Regions from separate parts of the Homo sapiens genome. Here region 2 is linked to region 1. The links are contacts of gene promoters, found by promoter capture Hi-C in blood cells and fetal thymus (Javierre and others, 2016). All regions are on one chromosome and are shown on one strand. The core of a region is centred on a gene start or on the middle of the fragment in contact, and the rest is flanking DNA. Distances in the headings are between cores, read along the strand shown. Region 1 holds the start of C1QB (complement C1q B chain). Region 2 overlaps WNT4 (Wnt family member 4).

What was found. The method cuts DNA at HindIII sites, captures the fragments that hold promoters and counts their contacts. A CHiCAGO score of 5 or more calls a contact.
Region 2: a fragment that was not itself captured here is called in contact with the fragment with the promoter of C1QB in region 1 in 4 of 17 cell types (megakaryocytes, erythroblasts, activated CD4 T cells and 1 more); the score reaches 7.1 in megakaryocytes.

What each region holds. Positions count from the first base shown.
Region 1 is chr1:22,651,315-22,656,595 of GRCh38, reverse strand. C1QB (complement C1q B chain) reads right to left here and starts at 3,360. Exons shown (of 3, transcript NM_001378156.1): 1 at 3,293-3,360. The HindIII fragment of the contact is 5,474 bases long and covers 2,905-5,281 here.
Region 2 is chr1:22,132,906-22,138,021 of GRCh38, reverse strand. The region is part of intron 1 of WNT4 (Wnt family member 4); the gene reads left to right. Among named protein-coding and RNA genes, the nearest start is that of WNT4, 7.6 kb to the left of the region's middle. RefSeq lists enhancers at 1,339-1,852, 4,107-4,832. The HindIII fragment of the contact is 2,915 bases long and covers 1,165-4,079 here.

The DNA of each region.
Region 1 (5,281 bases), core at 2,111-4,610:
AGCAGAGGAAAATACCGTTTGTGTCTTTCCACTTACAGACCTTCCACTTACACACTACAATTTGGTTTTGGGGTTTTTGGTTTTTTTTGAGATGGGGTCTCACTCTGTTGCCCAGGCTGGTCTCGAACTCTGGAGCTCAAGCCATCCTCCTGCCTCAGCCTCCTGAGTAGCTGGGATTACAGGCACGCACCATCTCGCTTGGCTATTTGTTTATCCACTCATCATTGGTGGACATTTGGGAAGTTTCCACCTTTTGGCTATTGTGAAGAGTGCTGCTATGAACATTTGTGAACAAGGATTTGAGTATCTGTTTTTAATTCTTTGGGGTTTATACCCAGGAGAGGAATTACCGCTTATGGCAATTCCATGTTTAAGTTCCTGAGGACCCTTCAGCCTATTCTTAAGTTTCCTCAATGACACCTCTGCCAAGGTCCCCCGTGTGGTGCCTCAACGCACTCCCCTGCTGCACAAACGTTGTGTTCACTCAGCCCTAAGAACTAATCACAACGCTAGCTGCACATCACATTATTTCCTTGGAAGAGTCAAGCTGAACTTTCTCAGCAGAGTGTGAGGAAATGACATCTCTGCCAAGGGCTCTTCCATCCATAGTTTGCACCGTTTCAGTGATGGGCAGCTCATTACCTCTCGAGGCAGCCCATTCCACCTTTGCCCAGATCCAAATGTTTTTTCTTCATTCGAAGCTTGGGTCAAAGCCTTCTTCCTCCAGGAAACCTTTCCTCAGAGGCTGAACTGTATCCTCTCTTAAAATGGGGGAGCAGAGTGGTCTCTGCCTACTTCCCAGAGTGGCCACAGGGACCCAGGTGAGACCATGGATGGGAAAGAGTCATAAAGCCTTGAGCCCCAAGCTCTCATTGGGACTTGTGGCTGCTACTGCTATTGCTGCTGTTCTCTGATCCTCTCAACACCCTGGGGAAGTGGGTTGTGATTAATTTCCCATCTTGCAGATGAGGAAACTGAGGATCGGAACTTAGAAAGCAACCTACCCAAAAATCACCCAGCAAACTATTCTAACAGCAGGGTTGTGGCCAAACTCCTACCCTCTCTGCCACATGCTGGCTGTCCCAACCCCAGAGTCTGGCATGTGGAGGGCTCCCTGGGACCAGACAAGGCCTACTGATATTTGGCTCCTATGCTCTGCAAACCAGCCTCAGCCCCTCAGCCTAGTCCTGATCAATTTCTTGCTGAAAGCCCTGAGTTATGCCAGACACTGTGCACCAAGGAAAGGAAGCTGTAAAGATGAGTGTGGCCAGGGAATGCTGGTGACAGCTTTAGGTTCTGTCAGGCTCTATGCTCTGAAGACAGGGTGGCTCAGGGGCATGGTCCTGCTTATCCATGAATAAGCATCAGCTCTCACTCTTGCTCTTGCTAAAGGTTTTACAAAATGGCAATTTAACAACTTTAATAAGTTGGGTACGTATAGGCCAGGCTCTGAGCCAGATGGCTTGCATGCCATTATCCCCTGTAATTTGATATTCAGCCCCTGAGAATGCACTCTTGCTTTCTTATTTTACAGATGAGGCAACGGGATCAGAGAGGGCAAGCACCTTGATAAAAGTCACACAGCTCCTGTGTGGCTGGGAGTCAAACCCACATCCACTGGATCTTAAAACTCAATGTTATGTTAAGAGGCCACTGTACCTGGTGGTAAAAACATAAACTTTGAAGCCAGACAGCCTGATAAAAGGACTAATGCATGGGACACACCAAGGGTAGTGGTAGGCACATGGTCAGTGTTCGGTGAAAGTGGCTTTTTACCACCACGATGATTGCTGCTCTTGTTAGGCAGCACACATTCACCTGGTGGCGGGAGCCTGTAGTGTCACAAGGAAAGCAACACTCAGCGTTCACATAAGGTCTCTACTGCTTCTTAGCTAAGGGACTTGGGAAATCACTCCTTCTCTCTGGCCACAGTTTACCCTCCTATAAAGTGGGGATAATGCTACTCTCTCCCTCATAGGGTATGTGCGAGGACATGAGTTACAGCTTCCAACAGAGCCTGGCATGTTGGAAATTCTTAATGAATATTAGCTATTTTATTATTATCACTGTCATCCAAGAATTCCTGAGTGGTTGAACAGAAGGGAAGATGGTTGGAGAAGTAAAAAAAGACAATCCCTTTGAAAGACTGTGTTTAGAGGGAGGGGCTCTGTCAGTTGGAGGCAGCAAGGGGTGGAGAGCTGTGACCAGTTGGTGGGGAGAGAGGGTGGGGAGCAGGGTACTGACAGGACTTGGGCTTCCTGGGGAAGCCAGGGGCAGGGGGAGTGGGAAAGTGCTGGTTCTAGCCCATTTCAAAAGCCACCGAGTTTCAGCCTTGGGTTAGGGCTTACAACTCATCTGGTTTAACTGCCTCCTGCCTGTGCCAGCCCATCATCATTGCCAGCGCGGTTTCTCCTGTCCTCCCCCCAGGCTCTGACCTTTCCATCTCCTTCGGTCCAGCAGTCCCTTTCCGCAACATGGAGTCAGGCCCACTTGACTTTAAAGCCCCATCTGCTACCGGCTGCATAACCTCAGGCAAGTGCCTTAACCTCTCTGAGCCTCTTGGCAATGCTGATTTCAACCTGACAGGGCTGCCAGAAGGATGACAGGAGAAGGCGCTTAGAAGAAATAAGGTCCCCCCTGCCCCGTGCAGTGCCACATCCCACTCCCCAGCTGCACAAACATTGCGCTCACTCAGTACTAGCTGAGAACTCATCGTAACTCTACCTGCACATCCCCTTATTTCTTTGGAAGAGTCAAGCTGAGCTTTCTCAGCGAGTATGAGGAAATAAGCAAGGTGTTGGGGAAATGCTGGGCCGGGCAGGAGCGACTGGCTTATAATCCCACTCCTGCCTCTGGTTTACTGATAAATTTTGAGCCAGGGCATGCACTAAGCTTTTGCAAGCTTGATCTCCTGTAAGGCACAGCAGTGCTGAAAGATTCTGTTCTCTGTAGGGGGGCCGGGCTGAGAGAGGTTAGGTGACTTGCCCAAGATAACCAATACATAAGGTGCAGAGCCAGACTCAGCTCAAGTCTCTGCGATGCCAAAGCTCCTATGTGCCAGGCTCCCGCTTTAGGTGGCCTGCCCATCCGCTAGGCCCTGGGTAGCAGCAGACTCCCCAACTCACCCCAGAGATCTGGGTCCCATAGGTCTGGGATTGGGCCCAGCTACCTGCACTGTTAAACAGCCTAACTGGCTCCGAGGCAGGTGACGCAAAGCTCACACTTACGGAATCACCACTTTCTGCCATATTGGCCCTGCCAGCCTCCCCCAGGCGCCAAGCCCCGTCCTCACCTGGGAAGCTGGTGTCCTGTGAGGCCACTGGGCTGAGCAGCAGTGGGACCAGGAGCCGAGAGCCTACTGCCCTCGGTCCGAAGCGGAAGTTCCCTTCCCCAGAGGCGGGAAGGGCTTTCCCCTGACGGTCCCCTCCCATGGACCAGCAGGCTGGCCCCTTTCCCGTCCCCTCACTGTCCCCCCACCCTGCTGCCCTCAGGCAGTTTCAGGTCCTATTTCTGCAACCCACTGGATTTACTGTAAATGAGACGGGTGGGTGGCAAGTTTGGTTCTGCCAACTCAGCAGCTGTGGGGAGAACACGCTGTCCTGGGGGAACATCCACAGCTCACCCTCCCAGGCTCTCTGACCTCGTGATCTTCTTCTACACTGGGCAGGGGTGTTCCTCAGTGAGCATCATGTGGCGGGCCCGCTGCCTGAGTGCTGGCTTACAGTCAGAGCCTTTGATTCCAATCCCGCCTCTGCCACTTGCCAGTTGATGTGTTGTCAGTCAAGGGAGCCCCAATTTTCTCTGCTATAGGATGGGACCATAATTGTACCTGCTCTACAGATACAGATCTCACAGGCCACTGGGAGGATAATGGAGGAAATGATGGGGGAGGAAGTGTCTGGGGGTAAACTGTAAAGGGCTGTGCACGTGTTCATTGTTAATATCACTTCATGTCCCAGGCTTCCCCTTTCTGGGCTCATCTCTTCTGCTTCCTTCCCATTCTGTGCCCCTGCTCTTTCCCTGTTCTCAGAAAATAATCTCATAATGAATTTTAAATGTGTTCATTATTTATTGATACCCCTCCCTCTGCTTCCAGCAGGGCTGGACGCTGATGACAATAATAGGCCCAGGCAGGGGCCTGTTGCTTCTTCTCGATCCTGGAATCACGCCAAGTTAGGGCCGGAGAGGGGCTGAGGTTACTCGGCCCATCCTCCTCATTTTATATACGAGGAAACTGAGGCCCAGAGGGGAGACCCACCATTTAACAAATATTTAGTGTTTGCTTCCATGTGCACTGAAGAGAGAGCTCTTAGCAAATCAGCCATGGTCCCTGCCCCCATGGGGCCTCCCTTCTACGGGGGGAGACTGGTGTTAAACACGGAATGACATGAGGCTTCATTGCTTCTGTGATAAATGTCACAGAAAGACGTGACTGCTGGGGCCGATGCCTCATGGAGGTGGCAGATGCAGACCTGGAAGCCGGCATCCCTGGCACTAGGATATCAGTCTCTCCCTGTGGCTGCGTCTCAGACGACATGATGACTAGCAAGCACCAGGAGCTGGAGGCCCTCTTGACATCTGTGCTTGGAGATGGAAATTCACTGGGCTTGTGGATGCAGCTTGGTGGAAATTAAGTGTTAACTGCAATGGGTGAACAGGAGGGAAAGATAAGTTTGATAAAACCAAAAGGTCTCTGAGCTCAGTCAACTATAGTCCCGAAGGGACCCAGGCTAGGGTGAAGAGAAGAAACACTGGATTCCACAAAGGGAGAAACGAGTTAGTAGGTTGCAAGTTGAGGGCTTCTGAGCATTCCCAAAGCCGAGTGGCTCTGGGCCTCTAGTTCTTTTTTTTTTTTTTTTTCTTGAGATGGAGTCTCAGTCTGTTGCTCAGGCTGGAGTGCAGTGGTGCGACCTCAGCTCACTAGAACCTCTTCCTCCCAAGTTCAAGCGATTCTCCTGCCTCAGCCTCCCAGGTAGCTGGGACTACAGGTGCATGCCACCAAGCCCAGCTAATTTTTGTATTTTTTTTTAGTAGATACAGGGTTTCACCATGTTGGCCAGGCCGGTCTCAAACTCCTGACCTCAAGTTGATCTGCCTGCCTCGGCCTCCCAAAGTGCTGGGATTACAGGCGTGAGCCACCATGCCCAGCCTCTGGGCCTCTAATTCTTAGGTGGCTAAGGGCAATGGGAAAAGATGGATGTCAATTTGGGGTAGAAGCAGTGAGGCTAAGAACAGGAAGCAGCAGAGGTGGGTTAGGAGCACGGACTTTGGCAGTTTGAAT
Region 2 (5,116 bases), core at 1,373-3,872, 520 kb after region 1:
CTGTCAGGTACTAGGTGCTCAGCCGATCTTTGATGGATGAATGAAAGGTGGGCTTGTTTAGAGGGTTCTCAGCTGTTGTCCAATGGTAGCCCATCTTCAAAGGCCTGCAGTAGGAGGAAGGCTCTGCTCCACTGCCCTGAGGCTCAGGTGATACTAAAAGGCACAGAGGTGGGTGGCAGGAAGTGTGTCTGTTGCCCCCCCGATCTGCTGCTCTGCCCCTCACTGCTGGGCCGGAACAGACCCTGAGAGCCAGGCTGAGTGTTTCTCCCCCAGCACTGCAGCACCCCAGGACCAGGCTCTGCCCGAGGGGGTTGCTCAGGCAGCAGTCACGACCCAGCTGTCTGCTATGGTTTGACTTTCTTCCCTCAGCCCTGGATTAGCAATTGAGCAACACAGCAAGCATCTGACAAGACAGTGCTCCCCAAACCTGTTGAAACTCGCCCAACTCAGGCTCTGTGGGTACACTGGGAAAGCTGAGCATTTGCACCAAGCCTCCTCCTCTTGTTCCTGCCTCTGGGAAGAGGGGCTTGGGCTTAGCCAGTGGGGCGCAGATTGGCCAGGGAGCCATGGGTGGGGTGACAGCTGCCTGCCGTGGGCCCTCCAGTCACCCCTTCACTGCATGGAGCAGGCGCAGCTGCAGGCAGAGCTGCGACCCCAGGGTTGCTCTCCAGATTTCCACAGGAGTTGCCAGGTTTTATCTCTGAGTCCTGAACTGCATCTTCTGTGATTCAGCCAAACTCGGGACGGCTCGCTCCCTGCCGTGACCCCACCAGCTCCCCCTCCCCCATGTCCTGGCAAACTGAAACCAAACTGTGTTCTGAAAGTTCCCTGCCAAGTCAGACCCCGCAGAGGAGGGGACCTGGTCTGAGGAGAGAGCGGGAGGGAGGTGGGAGGAGGAAGGGATGCGTCCTCCAGGGGAGAGGAGCCTCGGACAGCTCACATGTATCTTTGGAGAGGCCCATTAGAACAGCAGGAATGCTGATGGGCCTCAGGGCCCTTCCCCGAGATGACTGTGAATGGTCCCTTCAGACCCTATTTCTCAATCTGTTCACACACAAGCCCTGAAATCCCAGGATTGGGCCCTAGAGACCCTTCCCCAAGGGCTGGAGACAGCAGAATAGCCCCTCCTGAGTCGGGTGCCCAGCTGTTCCGGCAACCCAAGCTTCGAGGCATGAGTGTGAGGGGGTTCTTGGGGATTCTCAGTCAACCCCCTGGGGAACCTTCCTGCCAGGGAGGGCCTGGGATGCCCCCAGGCAAACATGTCGAGCACTTCCTCACATCAGGCCCTGTGCTGGGCACTTAGGACCATACAGCATGGCGGTGGTAGAACCAGGACTCCATCCCAGGTCTCCCAGAGCTGTTCCCGCAGCCGCTGACAGCAGCCCTGCAGCCCTGCAGCCCTGTACCCCCAGCCAGTTATTCTCTGCTGGGGGGATGAGCCCCACCCTGGTGGGGGTGGGAGTAGGGGTTCAGCCACAGGCTCTCCTAGGACTGGGCCTTTGGAAGGTATCCCCCAAGGCCGATGAACTCACTAGAAACCGGGAGCCTCACTCCAGGAGGCCAGCACTGGCTCTGGACAGTTCTGCTGGGGTTTCACCTGTCCCTCCTCTTTCCCCAACCCCAGGTTCCCTCAGCCCAGCAGGGAGGACAGTTCAATGGGTCAGTGGCCACAGGACATGAAAGGTTGTGGGGACACAGGTCGGATGGGTCTAGCAAAGGAAGAGCTCTCTGCTGGCAAATTGGGGGACAAGGTGAGGTCAGACCAGCCTTAAATTTGATACCCACTCCCCCCAACAACACACCTGCCTCAGGGAGAGAAGGCAAGTTCTCACCTGGCAGAGCTCTGGGGCCATCCAGGCTCAGGTCCAAGGGGCTACTTTGTGGCCCTGAGGCAGCCACCAGCTCGCTGGGAATACATACAGTGAGATGGGAAATGGGGTTGGGGGCTCCCAAACAGGAAGTGGGGGACACAGAGCCCTCAGGAGTGAAATGTAGGGGGCTAGGGTACCAGGATACTGGAAGTAATGAGAATTGGGAAACCAAGAGTCAGAAAATGAGGGCACTGAGGCTTCCAAGGATAGGAGATGGGAGCGAGGGGTCCCAGGAGACAGGAAAGAGGGAAAGGGGCCCAAAGGTGCAGAGTGGTGTGCACTGGCGGTGGAGGCCTGGGTTCCAGGGGAGGCCGTTCTCTCTCTCCGCCTGAGGAAATGCACCTGAGGCCAAGAGGACTTGGCCTGGGCCTTGAGAGACCTAGGACCATGCTAAGGCTGAGGGGTGAAGGCAGCACCCACTGCCCTGCAAACCACCATGAGTGTCTCCAAAGCCTGCCCCTCCAGGGGTTTTGGACCAGTGGCAGCAACCCTTCCATGGCCCCAACAGCTACAGAGACCACAGGCTTCCATACTGTCCAGGCAGTCCCGTAACCACCCAGACATCTGTCCCCAGCACCCCTTACTCCTGAACACAGCCCAGACACCTCACTGTAGTTCAGAAAAGACATGGGGCTCTAGAAAGACCCATCAAGGGAAGAATCAGGCCTCCTCCCTCAGGTCACTGTCTGTTGACTGCCAAACTTCATGCCTCAGTACCCTGGGTCATCTTTGGCTTAGGAGCCAGAGTGACCCGTTTTCAAATCCTGACCTTCCACTGCAGGCTGCATGGGCTCAAACACATGCTTCTCTGAGCTTCAGTTTCCTCATCTGCGAAACAGAGGGGAAGACACCTGCCTAGCCAGCCCTGTGCTGTTGCACTAAGGACATACTGAAGCACGTGACTATTGATTGCAGAGTATAAGTGAAGGTCCCATGCATCCACTCTGTGATGCCCACAAATGGTTTCCAAGTCCCCTTGACACTCCTGAGCTTGTCCTGCACACCACTGTCCCTGCCCTCACCCCAGTGTCCCAGCTCTTGATGTCCTAGCAGCACCATCCCCTCCACCCATCTCTCACACTCCCCAGCCTCAGAGGGTCTGACTGACAGTCGCCAGGAAACACATCCTCAAACTCTGCAGACTTCATCTGGAGACTCTGTCAAAAGCCTGCCATTGGGATGGCTGCTGAGGTCATCCACTGTACCCCGGGGGAGCGTGTCCCACCTCTCAGGCATGATCAGCTGAAAAAAAGACTGGGAACCCAGGACTAAGAGGGCCAAGAGACCCAAGCAAAAAAACACACACACAAATGAGCAGAAGTCAGCATGGGTCTGGTCTGGGGTGCAGCAGAGGGGTGGCCAGAGGAACTGGGAGAGGCTGTGGGAGGGGTGGTGACGGCACCGATGACAGTGAGCATCTTGAAGGTGCTGCTAGGACAATGCTGCAGCAGGGACGAGCATCTCCTGCACACAGATTTCATTCATTTAGGCCTCCTGCGTGCAGGAATTCCAGTCTCCCCACTTTACAGATGAACACGCTGAGGCTCAGAGGTGTTCACTAACTTGCTTCAAGCAACACAAGGATGACATTTGGACCCAGGAGTCCCTGGTCCATGTCCTTTCTGCACTGCCTGCCATGCCAAAAGACAAGGGTCTCCAAGGCTAGGGCACCATCAGGGGGAGCACAGCAGGATACCAAGACTGTGGTTATAGAAACATTCAAAGATGTAAAAGTGAGTGGGGGGTATGGTTAGGATCTTGGGAAACCAGGTACCATCCCCCTAAGAACACAGTCCTAGATGGGGACTGTGGTCACTTTCGCCCCCACTGGCCCGCATCCCCCAAGGCAGCTCTGTTCAGCAGCCACTCCGTTTTCTTCCGGCTCCCCCTCCCACCCACTTGGCCTCCTTCCTCCCTGGTATCGCAGGCACGACCGCTCCTGAGGAGGCTCTAAATGTGGCCCAGGCAGGCAGGGAGGCCAAAGGGAGGGGGCAGAGAGGCCTGCGCTGGCGTCCCAGCCCCCACCTGGACACCCGCAGGGCCGGGACCCACGACACTGATCTGCTTGGCCTCCCAAACGCTCCAGCTATTTCCCGTCCCCTCTCCTCTTGACTCACAGCGTAAGAGCTGGGAGGAGTCGCAGAGGTGCAGATTTTCCTCTAGGAATTTGTATATTTTTTTTAAAAAGCAAGCAAACCTGGAAAAGCTTGGGACAAGCCCAGCTAATTTTAGTTTCTAATGAAAACAGCAGGTGGCTGAGAGGATCTGATCTCCCTGGCAGGGCAAGGGCCCTCCAGCCTCGCAGGCTGTAGGCACGGGCCGGGCTCGGGGAGGGCCTCCTGGGAGGAGCCTGCAGGACCTGCAGCCCCCGTTGGAGAAGATCAGGGCATGAGCTGGCTGGTAGCAGCAGCAGGGGCGGTCTGGGCTGGTGGGGTAACCTGATCAACGGCATGGCCATGGCGAGAGTCCTGGGTGGCCAGGGCAGCAGGTGGCAAATTGCTAAGCCTGTACTCCGTGGTGGCAGGAAGGAGCCTAAATTGGGGCAATGCAGCCACGACAGGAGAAGCCTCAGGGATGGCCAAGGCCCTGCACAGCCTGGCCCGGCCCACCCATCACGCCCTGGCTCTCTGTCACCCCTAGAAAGGGCTGGTGCACTCCATTTTTGAGCCTGGTCCAGCTCCAGGGTCAGCGGATGGCACACGTGTCTCTGGGGTTGAGCCACCCTAGGGCACTGGGAATCCTGAGGTGTCCAGTACTAATCAGGCCTCGCCCTGATGGGTCTCCAGGCTCTCAGCAGATCAAAAGACCACAGCAGCCCCCACATTCCTCCCTCATCCTTATCTTCCCCATCCTGAGCACTCTGCCAGGAGGGAAGCAGAGGGAACCCCGTCAGGACAGAGCCCTCCATCCTGCTGCAGGCATTTATTAAACACCTTCTATGCACTGTGCCCTGTGTGAGGCACCAAGGGCAGTGTTAGCCCCCCTCAGCAGGTAAATGGGGCATATCCACAGCCAGGTACAGAGGAAAGAGAGTTGAGAGTTAGGGCTGGGTTTGCACTGCAGCTCGCCGCTCTAGCTGTGGGACTTTAAGCAAGTTGCTTTATCTCCGTAGCCTCAGTTTGTTCATCTGTGAAATGGAGCCAAATGCTAGTTGGATACTGAAACGGGCAAGCAGAAACATTGTGGATGAGGGCCTGTAATGCCTGGGGTTCTCACTCTCTAGAGCCGGTGCCCGGTTCCATTTC